5 separate regions of the Homo sapiens genome follow, and regions 2, 3, 4 and 5 are each linked to region 1. The links are contacts of gene promoters, found by promoter capture Hi-C in blood cells and fetal thymus (Javierre and others, 2016). All regions are on one chromosome and are shown on one strand. The core of a region is centred on a gene start or on the middle of the fragment in contact, and the rest is flanking DNA. Distances in the headings are between cores, read along the strand shown. Region 1 holds the start of ZNF606 (zinc finger protein 606). Region 2 holds the start of ZNF543 (zinc finger protein 543). Region 3 holds the start of ZNF805 (zinc finger protein 805). Region 4 holds the start of ZNF749 (zinc finger protein 749). Region 5 holds the start of ZNF17 (zinc finger protein 17).

Region 1 (2,700 bases), core at 22-2,521:
CCAGCTTTTTAAAATGATCCTCCATTACTAGTGGAAATATCTTCAAAATCTCTCTTGCCCACTGCTCACTCAAGTCTAGCTTCCTAAATGGCCATGCTTTCTTTGGTATCACCACCTACAGTCCCTCAGTCCCTTTTTTTGAGACAGAGTCTTGCCCTGCTGCCCAGGCTGGAGTGCAATGGCTTGATCTCGGCTTACTGTAGCCTCCGCTTCCCGGGTTCAAGCGATTCTCCTGCCTCAGCCTCCCAAGTAGCTGGGTACAGGTGCCCTCCACCAAGCCCGGCTAATTTTTGGTATTTTTAGTAGAGACGAGGTTTTATCATGTTGCCCAGACTGGTCTCGGAACTCCTGACCTCAGGCGATCCACCTGCCTTGGCCTCCCAAAGTGCTGGGATTACAGCTGTGAGCCACCGCGCCCGGCCCGTTTTTGTTTGTTTTAATGCCGGGTCTTGCTCTGTTGCCCAGGCTGAAGTGCAGTGGTGCGATCATAGCTCACTGCAACCTTGACCTCCCAGGCTCAAGCAATCCTTCCACCGCAACCTCCTAAGTAGCGGGGACTACAGGCGCGCGCCATCACACCGGGCTAATTTTTGTATTTTTTTTGTAGAGATGTGGTCTCGCTATGTTGCCCAGGGTGGTGTCGAACTCCTGAACTCAACTGATCCTCCCGCCACAGCTTCCCGAAGTGCTGGGACTACAGGAATGAGCCACCGCTCCCGAACCGCTCCATGCATATCGATAGAGGAAAACTCACAGGGTGCGTCGCTGGTAACCCATGCTCCCATAAAGCCTGGCCTCTGGAAAGAGACTTGGGAACGAGCCCTGACGTTCTCAGCCGTCGAGCTTCACAGAGAAGGGTAGCTCGAATTAGGTTCCTTATCTTAAAGAGAATAACAGCAGTCACTTTCTCACAATCTTGCGAACGCCAAATGGAAGGATCCCTCGAGAGCGCTGAGAACTCGCCGAGCTCCTCCCGGGAAACCCGGTACCACGAGGCGCCATTTTGCGGATGGGCAAACCGAGGCCCGCGGGGCCGCGACTTACCCAGGCCTTTTTGCAGTGGGAGGCGACGGTGGAGGAGGGTGGTCTGGGACCGGGACAACAAAGTCCATCCTGCCGCCGGCTTCGACGCAGGTGCCAGAAAGGTCCCAACCCCGCCCAGGCAGGGCGAGGCGGCGCGGCCCAGGAACCTGTCATGGCGGCGCCGCTGCCCGACGCCGGAAGTGCCCGCCTGGAACTACAGCTCCCAGCAGACCCCGCGGCGCGCTCCGGTCGACGCCGGGGAAGCAGCCGCCATTGTCCGCGGCTGAGGTGAGGCCTTTGCTCAGGCTGTGGGGCCGCCGTAGCTGCGGGGCTTGGGGGGTCAGGAGAGCCGGCTGGGAGAGGCGGCGTCAGGGTGGGTCCTGCGCCTGCCCTTTCCGCGCCGGCTTTGCGCCGTCGTTGCCGTCGGTTCTCCAGCCAGCAGCCTGCCTCCGGCCTCCCGCCTCCGGGCGTTCTTCGTTTTCTGGTCGGACGGGCCTGGGTGAACTCTGCTGCACGTCGGCTCCGCGGGCCTTTGTCCCCGAGGCCGCGCCGGGAGCTCCCAAGCGCACTCCTGGGCCGGACCTCGGCGCGGGACAAAAGCCAAACGCCCCAGGCGGGCAGACCCCGATCCTGCTGCGCCGCCTTCAAGGGGGACCGCCGGCCGCGAGCCAGGTGAGGCCGGGACGAGCTTTTGCAGCGTCGCGGCCGCGTCGGTCTTGAGGAGGAAATTTGGGTCGGGAGCTCTGGAAGCAGGTGATAAGGATGCTTCTGAGGCCATTGATGGGACGAATAACCCCGTTCGTTCCCCAGCCGTCGTTTCTCCCCCTGCCAGTTCACACAAAGCACTGTGAAGGACGTCAGACCTGGGTTGGAAACAGCTCCGGGTTCCCTTAAACATGCAGTGACGGCGGCGGTCACTGTCAAGTTGCAAATAATGGTGCAAAGTACGGTTTGCATTCTGCGTTTTCGCGCTGATTCCGGTGCTCCTGAGGCCCACTGTGTGTTCTAGTGCTTTATACACATACCCAGGAATCCATTCGAGAGGTTGCTGACTTGTACAAAGATCTGGAACCTGAGGAGTTAGGGGTCTGGGCGCCAGGCCCATCTCTAAGTCCTCCACACACACACAAGCTTAGGCTTAGTAAATCTTGGAGGTGAATTTTTTTTGGAGGTGGGATTAAATTTGCATAACATAATGTTCACTTTAAGCACTTAAAAGTGTGCAATTCACCGGTTTTATTGTATATTAATAAAGTTGTGCAATCATCCCCATTATCTAATTTTAGAACATTTCATCACCCCACAAAGAAACCCTTGTTCCCCTTAAGCAGTCACTCCCCATTTCATTTTTCCCCCAGCTCTAGGCAACCACTAATATATGAGGATTGCAAGTTGATTTTACAATAATTGTCAGATTAATCCAAAAGTTCCATCTGTGTTGTGACTGGCTGTCTCTTGGGAATAGCTGACAAATTTGTACCCTCTCATTCAGGATCATGCTCTTTTTTCCAGCTTATGCAAATTACCTTTCATTTCTCTCCAGGAATTGTGTTACTTTTTTGACATGTAAATTCTCTTTTCTTACGATGCTCCTTACAAGTTTTTTTGTTGCTTCGGTGGATGGATTCCCTTCTTTGTTCCCACTTGGTCTTCTGTGAGAAAGGACTAGTTTTGTCT
Region 2 (2,700 bases), core at 20-2,519, 680 kb after region 1:
CTGTGATGGTAGACACACCAGTTGTTAGTTTCTGATACTTAAGAGCTACAGTGATGTAAGGCAGGTAATTGAACCTATGTGAGCCTCCAGCTGCTCTTGTGTAAAACAGTGAGGACAAGAGAACCTAATTCTAAGGAGTTCAGGATTAAAGGAGCTGAGGGTTAAATAATGCCTGCCAATCAGCCCACAGCAAGGACTCTTTATGATCAGCTGTCACTCTTTGCAATTATTTCGTTTCTCTTTGTTCACATAACATCCTAGACCAACTCAAACGGCAAGCTTCTTTAATATCGTCAGATTCTCTATACAAAAATGCCACACATTGCCAAAAATGGGCAAGTGCGTAAGGCGCCACTTTAGCCGGAATTGCCAAGAAAGCCACCTCCAAATAGGTGACATCTGGACAGAGGCCAGAAAGATATGAGAGGGAGGCCCTGCGAAGTTATAGGGGCAGTGTTCAAGGCAAAGGGAAGTGCAAAGAGAAAGCCTGGAAAAAGGAAGAAGACTGCACGGTCAGGTTGGTGGCTCTGAAGAGCAAAGGACAAGGGAAAAATGGAGAGACAAGGTCAGGGGTGGTTGGCCAGGTGGATGGGGTAGGGGCTGGCAGGCAACAGAGGAGGTTGGATTTAAGGGAAGTGTGATGAGATCCATGAAGGAAGCATCATTCATCCTTCTACCAAGGACTGAGCACCTGTCGGAGGCCAACACTATTGCAGGACTGCGGATAAAGGAAATGACAAGCTACGGCCACTTCTCTTAAATAAACGACGGCGACAAAGAAACATCCTGTGGCTGTCTTGGCTTCTGCCTGCCCACGAGGCCTCCAGAAGTAGCAGAGCAGCAGCAAGGCCAAAACCTCGTCCACTCACCTGCGCCGAGGCTGCCATCCTGAGACCCTGCAGCCCTAGCGGGGCCCGGGAATGCCGCGGCTCAGCCGACCCCCAGCCCTTCTCTGTCCTGGGCGGGGCGACCTCGGCTGACTTTCGCACTCGGAGCCTCAGTTTCCCCAGAGAAAAATGCGCACAAAGCGGGCGCAGCGTCGGGGCTGAGGAGACGGAGGGCGGCTGCGGAGGCCTAGGCCTCGGCAGGCGCCGGTGGAACACCCCGTTAGGGAAGAAGCGGGGCGTCAGGCTCCCGCCAAGATGCGGAGAAGGCGCGTAACAGCCTCATTACCCTCCCCTGCTCAGGCCGCTGGACGCGCCTACCCAGCGGTCCAGGCCCCACACTGTTCCAGGGCCAATCCTGCTCACGGAGATGACGTCACGCGACGAAGCGGAAGTCCCACCTCCGCCGCCCTGGCCCGCAGAAATCGCCCGTGTCCTGGCCCGTCATTGGCCTAGAGTCCGCGGCCGACGCAAGGGGTGGTGCCTTCTGAGTAAGGCAGTTTTTCCCTCACATCTACCGGGTGTGGGAACTCACCAAGCGCAGCCGACTCCATTTAAGTGCGCACAAGGACCCCCGCGTCGTCTTAGGGCCGCCGCTTTACTATGGGCACAAGTCGGAGGGTCGAAAGGTCCTTTCTAGCTTAGGAAAATTGAGGTCAGGAGGCGGGGATATTCGCCCCGATTGAGATCATGGGCTGGGCCCAGAGCTTCTGGCTCACTTCCCTTATTTTAGGGAGGTAGCTCATATATGTAATCTCAGTGCTTTGGGATGCCAACACAAAATAATTGCTGAGGTCAGGAGTTTGAGACCACCCTGGGCAATATAGTAAGATGTTATATCTACCAAAAAAAAAAAAAAGAGCAAGGCATGATGGTGTACACCTGTAGTCCTAGACACTGGGAGGCTGAAGCAAGAGGATTGCTTGAGCCCAGGAATTTGAGGTTATAATGAGATATGATGAGAGAAAACACACACACATAAACACACTGAGATGCCATCTTATACTGGTCAGAGTGGCTATTATTAAAAAGTAAAAAACCAACAGATGTTGGTATGGATGCAAGGAAAAGGGAACGCTTATATGCTATTGGTGGGAATGTAAATTAGTACAACCTCTATGGAAAACAGTATGGAGATTTATCAAAGAACTGAAAATAGAACTGCCATTTGATCTGGCAATTCCACTATTGGGTATTTACTTAAAGGAAAATAAACCACTATATCAAAAAGATGCCTGTACTTACATGCTTACTGTAGCACTATTCACAGTAGCAAAGTCATAGAATCAACCTAAGTGTCCATCGACAGATGATTGGATAAAGAAAATGCGATATATATATGTATATATATGTATGTATATGTATATATGTATATATATGTATGTATATGTATATATGTATGTATATGTATATATATGTATATATGTATGTATATGTATATATATGTATATATGTATGTATATGTATATATATGTGTATATATGTATGTATATGTATATATATGTATATATATGTATGTATATGTATATATATGTATGTATATGTATATATATGTATATATATGTATGTATATGTATATATATGTATATATATGTATGTATATGTATATATGTATATATGTATGTATATGTATATATATGTATATATATGTATGTATATGTATATATGTGTATATATATATACACTCCATGGAATACTACTCAGTCATTAAAAAAAATCATGGCTTTTGCAGCAATATGGCTGGAACTGGGGGGCCATTCTCTTAAGTGAAATAATTCAGAAACAAAGTCAAATACTGCATGTTATCACTTATAAG
Region 3 (2,785 bases), core at 1-2,500, 760 kb after region 1:
GAGGAATCCTGTGGCTGTCTTGGCTTCCGGCCTGCCCAGGAGGCTTCCCCGAACTAGCAGAAAAGCAGCAAGGCCGAAACCTTGTCCACTCACCTGCGCCGGGTCCGTCAAAGCCATCGCCATACCGGGACCCTGTGGCCCTAGCGGGGCGGGGGCTGCGGCGAGCAGGGCGGGTCTCGCGGGCTCAGCCGAGCCCCACCCCTTCCCTGCGCCGGGCCCGGTGACCTTGGCTGACAGTCAAACTCTCTCGTTACGGGGAGGCTCACGGTTCGCTCCGAGACGCGGAGGTCGCTGTCGGCCTCCTACCTGCTCATTTCCCCAGCGCCGCCAGGGAGGCGGCCACGGAACACCGCCCCCTCCCTAGAGCCGGCGTGGACGGAACCGTCGCTCCCAAATTACGTCCCATCCAAATGCCGGAAGTCCCGCCCCAAGCTTCGCAACCCACAGGAAACGCCCCTGTCCTGGACCATCATTGGCCCCAGGGCCCGCCGTCGCACCTGGCAATGCCTTGTAGTTAATGTAGTTTTTCTCTACAAACCACCTGCAAAGGGGACAGATCCTGAGCCGGCAGGCCTCGGTGTAAAAGTCGCAGCGGGCCTACAGCCCGGCTCAGACCTGCCTCTGTCCTGGGGGCACAACTCGGAGGCCAGGGACCAAGCGCGAGACCGTCCATTCTTGGCCGGAGGAAATCGAGCCCCAGGAGTCAGGGACATTTGCCAGGGTCAGGGCCAGTGCAGAGACCCTGGACCAGGCTCCGGACTCTGACTTCCACCTTGCATTATTTCCCCTCCGGATCCTCTTATACAGATCAGCGGGCAGTCAGAGTAACCAAAGGGGGACGTCGGGCGGCGCGATGCCTCAGGCCTGGGATCCCAGCGCATTGGGAGGCCAAGGGGGGCGGATCGCTTGAGCCCAGGAGCTCAAGACCAGCTTGAGCAACATAGGGAGACTACCAAAAAAAAAAAAAATTTTTTTAAAATAAGCTGAGTGTGCTGGCGCACACCTGTGGTCCCAGAAGTCTGTGGCAGGAGGATCGCTTGAGGACAGGAGTTTGAGAACAGTCTGGGCGACAGAGCGAGACCTCATTGGTACCAAAAAAAAAAAAAAAAGAAAAAGAAAAGAAAAAAAATAGAGCGCGGTGGCTCACGCCTGTAATCCCAGCACTTTGGGAGGCCGAGGCGGGTAGATCACGAGATCAGGAGATCGAGACCATCCTGGCTAACACGATGAAACCCCGTCTTTACTAAAAATGCAAAAAATTAGCCGGGCGTGGTGGCTGGCGCCTGTAGTCCCAGCTACTCGGGAGGCTGAGGCAGGAGAATGATGTGAACCCGGGAGGCGGAACTTGCAGTGAGCCGAGATCGCGCCACTGCACTCCAGCCTGGGCGACAGAGTGAGACTCCGTCTCTCTCTCTCTCTCTCTCTCTACTTATATATACATATATTTATATATACATATATACATATATACGTATATATACATATGTATATATACGTATATATATGCACATATATATTTATATATATATTTATATATATATTTTTTGAGACAGGGTCTCGCTCTGTTGCTCAGGCCATAGTGCAGTGGCGCGATCACAGCTCACTGCAGCCTCAAACTCCAGGGTTCAAGTGATCCTCCCACCTCAGCCACCCAAGTAGCTGGGACTGCAGGCACGCACCACCACGCCCAGCAAATTGAGGGTTTTTTTGTTTTGTTTTGTAGTTTTTGTAGTCAGTTTCACCATGCTGCCCAGGCTGGTCTTGAACTCCTGTGCTCAAGTGATCCACTCACCTTGGCCTCCCAAAGTGCTGGGATTACAGGCATGAGCCACAGCATCCAGCCTACTCAAAAAAAATTTTTAATTAGCTGAGCATTGTGGCACACCCCTGTAATTCCAGTTACTCAGGAGGCTGAGATGGGAGGATCTCTTGAGCCCAGGAGGTCGAGGCTGCAATGACCTGTAATTGCACCACTGCACTCCAGTCTGGGCAATAGAGCAAGACCCTGTCCAGCTGGGACATGTTGCAAATGCATTGTCTCTCTTGGGCCTTCTTTGGCCAAGCTTGGTCTTCACATGGTCCAGCAACTTTTGCTTTAGGTATTGGCTGAGAGCCCTGGTAGAGTAGATTTGACATTCCTTAACGTGGGGAGTCTTGGACTGGGTGAGCTCATGACTCCAACTTTAAGCATGATCAGTTTGAAATGTCTGTATGACCACAGAGTGTCTGTGTCACAGCAGTTCAATCTCTGACTGAATATTGGGAGAGAAGTTGTGCCTGGACATAAAAATCTGGAAGTTTTTGGCAAACACTGTTATTTCAAGTTATGATACTGGACAAGACCATGAAAAAAAATGAGCATAGATGGAGAAAGGAATGGAAAGAGGTGAACATTGTTAAACAAAAATTACAGGAGGCCATTGTTTTGGAGCTCCTACAGCAGGCCTCACTGACCAAATCAAAATGGCGTCTCTCATACTAAATGTCATCTAATCAAACTGAAGTTTTAAGGAAGCAGACAGATCCCAGTTTTTCCTAAAAGCAGATTTCAGTCTACCTGAATTAGTGAAATTAGGAAGTCCCCTCTGCTTTAACCCTTAGAAAAAGTAATCTGTTAACCAATCAGCTTTTTTTTCTATTGTTCTATTTTATTGTTCCCACCTTACAAAACCCACTGTTCTGCCATTGCCCAGTGGGAACTCTAATTTCTATTGTGTAGAACAGAGATTGCCTCAATTCATGAATCACAAACAAAAGTCAATTAGATCTAAAACTAAATTTGTTG
Region 4 (2,745 bases), core at 1-2,500, 570 kb after region 1:
TATCTCATGCCTCAGTCTCTGTATTCCAGGGCAACTCCTTATCCATCCAGGCCTCTTTTTCAACAGAAACAGACCAGACTCTTAGCCCATATCTGCTCCCTTCTGCAGGGAGTATCAGAGATGCCCTCCCTACCATGGTCTTTCCTCCAAATCTGAGCCCTCCCCTACCTCAGCCCATATGAAAAAACGATGTAGGATTCTTCCTTCTCAATCTGATCCACAGGCCAACTTCTCAAGTGCACAACTTCTAACTCATTTAAAGCTCCAGGCCAGCTACCTTCCCTCACCTTTGGAAATTACGTCCACCTACCCATGTGATGTCGCCCAAAATCCAACCCAGGATCTTCTGTCTGAAACCCGCTCCTTAAGCTGATATCTCTAATTCCATTCTTTCAGATTTTTCAGGCCAAAACAAAACCTATGGAAGACACCATTCACTACCGACTTTCCCTCACAGCTATGTTTGATGCAGCAGGAAATCCTGTTGACCCTATCTCTGAGATCCATCCAGAGTCTCATCACATCTCCCCTCTACTGCAACCCCTCTGGCCCAGCCCTACCATAACTCAAGGGGTCTCCTCAGCGGTCCCCCTGCCCCCGTTCAACATCCTGTTTTCCCCAACTTTAAACTTCTAACTCTGGGCGTGACCCTCCCATTCGTCCTCCCTGCACAGCCCTCTATGGCTCTCTGCGGCTCCACTGCCCTTCCAGGGGAGACTCCGCCTCAACCTCTGCTCCTTGGAGACAAAGACGCTCGGGCTCCCCAGTGCCGCCCGTTCTGCAGTGCCTCCAAGCCCCAGAGACGTGTCGGTCTCCGACGGGAGCTCCCCCGCCTCATCGCACCGCAGTCCCAGTCCCGGGCACCCCACACAAGAACGCCCCTCTCTTAGAGACACAAGGGCCTAACCTGCAGGGCGGCTCCTTGGGACTTCAGCACTGGGAGGAGGGGTTGGGCGGGGCGGCCTGGGACGCTGCACGCACCTCGGTCAGGTTCATCGGCGCGGCCTCCTCCAGTCCACCCAGGGAAGAGCGGGGCGGGAACGGCGGTCACCTGGACGCTGACGGAGGCAGGGGCGCCTGCAGCCGACTCAGCCGATCCGCACTCTAGCCTCTGTGTAGAAGGAACACCGCTTCTCGCGTTTTTCCGCTCTTTCACCTCAGTCCCGACCCAGAGCTCTGGGACCCTCTAAATCAGTGAACAGATCCCTAGGTAGCCATGCTAACGCAACCATGAGGGCGCCGCCAGAAGTCCCGCCCACACAATTGAGACCTCATTAGTCGTCTCTCTGCTAGACCAATGGCTACACTCGCTGCCCTGCCCCCGCAGTGTCTTCTGGGTAATGTAGTTCTCACGTTGCTGCCTGTGTCGCCCGCAGTGTCTTCTGGGTAATGTAGTTCCCACGCTGCTGCCTGCCTCGCCTCACAATGCTGGGCGCGCGGACCTTACGGAAAAAAGCTGGAGGCTCCTGGAGGAGCGTTAAGAAATGCAGTTCCGGGGCTCTTAAGGACGTGGAGGGGCTTTGCTGACTCCTAAACTGCAAGTAACCAGATTTTCCCGGAGAGCAGTCTAGGACAAGTCTGAGAAATATTTCAGAGACCTGTCGTTTCAGATTCTCTGAAGCACAGCAAGTCCCGAAAGGAAGAACATCAGAAGCGACATGGCTGACCATAATGAACTGGTCCTCCATTCATAGCGGTCAGCTCTTTTGTGCTTGTCAAGTACACACATACTGAGGCTCTGGAGACTTTTTTTTGATCGTTAGTGTGCTTCTGTTGGGACAAGAAAGAAAAGACCCACACAGGATGTGATGGAGAGTTGAAGGAGGAATATCTTTCTGTCGACGAAAAGGGTGGAACTTTGTGAAATAGTTGAAGAGATTTATTCTGAGACAAATATGAGTGACTAATGGCCCATGACACGGCTCCAAGATATCCTAAGAACATATGCCCAGGGTGGCCCATCTACAGCTTGGTTTTAACAATTTAGGAAGACGTAAGACATCAATCAATACATGTAAAATGTACATTGGATTCCTCTGGAAAGGCGCAACTGGAAGGGAGGGGCGGGGCTTCCAGGTCAGGTGGGTTCAAAGATTTTCCGATTGGCAATTGGTTGAAAGAGTTTGTATCTAAAGACCTGGAATCAGTAGAAATGGTTGTCTGGGTTAAGGGGTTGTGGGCCGGGCGTGGTATCTCACGCCTGTAATCCCAGCACTTTGGGAGGCCGAGGTGGGCGGATCACCTGAGGTTGGGAGTTCGAGACCAGCCTGACCAACATGTAGAAACCCCATCTCTACTAAAAATACAAAATTAGACGGGCATGGTGGCACATGCCTGTAATGCCAGCTACTCGGGAGGCTGAGGCAGGAGAATCGCTTGAACCCGGGAGGCGGAGGTTACGGTGAGCCGAGATCTCGCCATTGTACTCCAGCCCGTGCAACAAGAGCGAAACTCCGTCTCAAAAACAAAAAAAGACAAGGGGTTGTGAAGACCAAGGTTATATCATGCAGATGAAGCCTCCAGGTAGTCTTATAAGGCCTTATGATAAGGCCTCAGCTCCTGAGCTAAAGCTATCTTCCCACCTCAGCCTCTAGAGCAGCTGGGACTGTAGGTACAGGACACCGTCCCTGGCTTTATTCAGCTTTTTACAATGCACTACAAAAAGTCGGCATTTAGAGCTATTTTTCTCTCACTGCAATTGAGTAGCAGTGAGAGAAAAATTGAGTAGCAATAGTATTGCCATCA
Region 5 (2,700 bases), core at 178-2,677, 590 kb after region 1:
TTGTAGTCCCAGCTACTCGGGAGGCTGAGGCAGGAGAATTGCTTGAACTCGGGAGGCGGAGCTTGCAGTGAGCCGAGATCGCGCCACTGCACTCCAACCTGGGCGATGGAGCGAGACTCTGTCTCAAAAAAAAAAAAAATGTTTTACACATTCATAAATAAATAAGTTGCAGGGAGGGGATAAGCAAGCAGGTCAGTTACTGGTCCCATCAGCAACCAGGCCTGCCTGCTACAAATTCAGTTGCTGGAAGCTTGCTGGAGGCCCTTGACTAGATGTGAGAAAGCCCTACCCCCGTCTGGACCCAATGTCCCCACTAGTCTGGATGACCTTCCTATTGTTCCACAGAGTGGGCCTGGGGGGCTGCTGGGTCTGCAGGTGCAGAAATCTAAACCACCTCACACCTCAGTCTCCAGCCTAGGCCAGTTCCTTAACCCATTCAGAACTCCGTTTTTGCAGATATGAGCCAGAATCCCTCCTATGACAGGTCTGCGCCTTTCTAAAGGTAGCGTCAGGCTTATGGACCCACCCATGATCTGCCCTCCAAAACTCAGCCCTCCAAAATGCAACTCATAATCCTCTCTGAAACCTGCTCCCTAAGCTGACTTCTCCAACTCCATTCTTTCAGATTTTCAGGCCAAAACAAAATCCATGGAATAGACCCTTCACTACCCTCACTGCTACATTTGATGCAGCAGGAAATCCTGTCGACTCTATCTCTGAGATCCATCCAGAATCTCATCACACTTCCCCTCTACTGCAACCCCTCTGGCCCATCCCTACCATAACTCAAGGGGTCTCCTCAGCGGTCCCCTTGTCCTGGTTTAACATCCTGTTTTTCCCAACTTTAAACGTCTACCTCTGGGCATAACCCTTCCTGCACAGCCTTCTACGGCTTTCAGCAGCTCCGCTGCCCTCCCAGGCGAGACTCCGCCTCACCCTCAGCTCCGTGGAGACAAAGACGCTCGGGCTCCCCAGTGCCGCCCGCTCTGCAGCACCTCTAAGCCTCGCACGTGCAGGTCCCTGACAGGAGCTCCCCCGCCTCACAGCACCGCGGACACCGGTACCCCACACAAGAACGCTCCTCTCTTTGGGACACAGGGGCCTGACCTGCAGGGCCCCTCCTCGGGGCTTCGGCACTCGGAGGAGGGATCGGGCGGGGCGCCCTGGGACGCGGCACCCACCTCAGTCAGGTTCATCGGCGCAGCCTCCGCCAGCACAGCCAGGGAAGAGCGGGGCGGGAGCGGCAGTGACCTGGACGCTGACAGAGGCACCAACGCCTGCAACCGATTCAACCGAGCCTCACTCTAGCCTCTGTACAACGGGGAAACCTTTTCTCGCGTTTTTCCGCTTTTTCACCTCAGTCTCGACTCAGCCTGAAGGTGAACAGATCCCAACGCAGCCATATTGACAACCCCAGGAGGCGTTGCAGGAAGTCCCGCCCACACGCATTGCGAACCCCCGTAGACGCCGCTCTGCTAGGCCTTCATTGGCTACACTCGCTGCTTGTGTCCGCCGCTGTGTCTTTTGGGTAATGTAGTTCCCAGGCCACTGCCTGCCCCGCTTCTGAACTTAAGTTAACTCGCGTTCAGGATGAAAGCCAGGAGGATCCTCCTGAGGCTTTGAGAAATGCAGTTGCGGGGCTCCAAGGACGTGGAGGGGCTTCATTGGCTTTTAAACGGCAAGCATCCAGATTTTCCCGGAAGGCAGTCTAGAACAAGTCAGAGAAATGTTTCAGAGACCTGTCCTTTCAGATTCTGTAAAGCACAGCAAGTTCCCAAAAGACGAACATCCGAAGGAACATGGCCAACCATAAAGAACTGGTCTTCCACGCATAGCGGTCAGCTCTTTTGTGCTTGCCAAATACACACAGAACGAAGCTCTGGAGACTGTTTTATGATCTTCAATGTGCTCTGCTGGGCACATTGAAAAGACCCAGACATGGCATGATGGGGAGTTTGAGGAGTAATATCTTTCCTTTCTGAATAATCAGTTATTGTCTTTCAGCCTACCCAGCAACACTTTATTCACATGATACTTATTACTTTATATCTGAGATATTTTCCACTTATTTTAAGAGACTGAAACCTAACTGAAAAGGAAAAGCGACTTATCTACCATTATCTGCCAGAATAGTGTGGCCTTCCACCAGTCAAAGCCCTTGTGCAAAGAAAGCATCTTACTCCTGAGATAAAGGTTTGGGAATGCATGATCTCATCTCATTAGTGGAAAGTGATTTATCATTTCGCCTGAAATTGTATCAACAGTGTCTGCACAGGGAGTTGAAATTGTCTCTGAATAACTCTTGTGAAATGGCTATTACTGAAACTATTAATGACGATTATGTAGATATCCAAAGAAAGTGGCAAAAATAGTTATAGAGAAACATATTTGTGATAGGAGGAAAAAAGCTAAGGTTGTCCTGGAACCTTGGACACACTCAAGTTTGGTGTCCAAAATCTGATTCTTTTTCAAACTTGAAAACATTGTGCATTAACAGCTTGAAGGGAGAGGTAAAGACTATATATTAAAAGAGTTACCAGAAAAGTAAAGCTGAATAGGGAAACTGTGCTGTCGTATTTATTACTCTAACATATTTGATGAACACTCATTCGATGCCAGGTACAATACTAAGTGCATGGGACACATTAGGAGTAGGGTTGCTAGCTGTCTGTGGTCCTCTAAGACACGTAAGACGTATTT

What was found. The method cuts DNA at HindIII sites, captures the fragments that hold promoters and counts their contacts. A CHiCAGO score of 5 or more calls a contact.
Region 2: the fragment with the promoter of ZNF543 here is called in contact with the fragment with the promoter of ZNF606 in region 1 in 10 of 17 cell types (naive CD8 T cells, total CD4 T cells, activated CD4 T cells and 7 more); the score reaches 16.3 in naive CD8 T cells.
Region 3: a contact is called between a fragment that was not itself captured here and the fragment with the promoter of ZNF606 in region 1, in 1 of 17 cell types (naive CD4 T cells). The highest score is 5.3, in naive CD4 T cells.
Region 4: the fragment with the promoter of ZNF749 here is called in contact with the fragment with the promoter of ZNF606 in region 1 in 12 of 17 cell types (naive CD8 T cells, non-activated CD4 T cells, naive CD4 T cells and 9 more); the score reaches 11.4 in naive CD8 T cells.
Region 5: a contact is called between the fragment with the promoter of ZNF17 here and the fragment with the promoter of ZNF606 in region 1, in 13 of 17 cell types (non-activated CD4 T cells, total CD4 T cells, naive CD8 T cells and 10 more). The highest score is 12.2, in non-activated CD4 T cells.

Annotation. Positions count from the first base shown.
Region 1 is chr19:58,001,391-58,004,090 of GRCh38, reverse strand. ZNF606 (zinc finger protein 606) reads left to right here and starts at 1,271. Exons shown (of 7, transcript NM_001348022.3): 1 at 1,271-1,695. It overlaps ZNF606-AS1 (ZNF606 antisense RNA 1), which reads right to left and starts at 1,197. Exons shown (of 4, transcript NR_036508.1): 1 at 1,045-1,197; 2 at 755-880. RefSeq lists an enhancer at 920-1,339. The HindIII fragment of the contact is 14,498 bases long and covers 1-2,156 here.
Region 2 is chr19:57,319,041-57,321,740 of GRCh38, reverse strand. It overlaps ZNF543 (zinc finger protein 543), which reads right to left and starts at 1,269. Exons shown (of 4, transcript NM_213598.4): 1 at 870-1,269. The coding sequence starts at 887. RefSeq lists enhancers at 1,171-1,320, 1,331-1,450, 2,376-2,700. The HindIII fragment of the contact is 3,609 bases long and covers 282-2,700 here.
Region 3 is chr19:57,238,230-57,241,014 of GRCh38, reverse strand. It overlaps ZNF805 (zinc finger protein 805), which reads right to left and starts at 383. Exons shown (of 4, transcript NM_001023563.4): 1 at 94-383. The coding sequence starts at 123. RefSeq lists a silencer at 86-155 and enhancers at 276-545, 566-785. The HindIII fragment of the contact is 1,631 bases long and covers 435-2,065 here.
Region 4 is chr19:57,433,830-57,436,574 of GRCh38, reverse strand. It overlaps ZNF749 (zinc finger protein 749), which reads right to left and starts at 1,250. Exons shown (of 3, transcript NM_001023561.4): 1 at 982-1,250. The coding sequence starts at 996. RefSeq lists enhancers at 686-735, 1,366-1,665. The HindIII fragment of the contact is 4,352 bases long and covers 1-2,745 here.
Region 5 is chr19:57,409,888-57,412,587 of GRCh38, reverse strand. ZNF17 (zinc finger protein 17) reads right to left here and starts at 1,427. Exons shown (of 4, transcript NM_001330617.2): 1 at 1,182-1,427. RefSeq lists a silencer at 728-930 and enhancers at 1,174-1,233, 1,314-1,423. The HindIII fragment of the contact is 5,033 bases long and covers 253-2,700 here.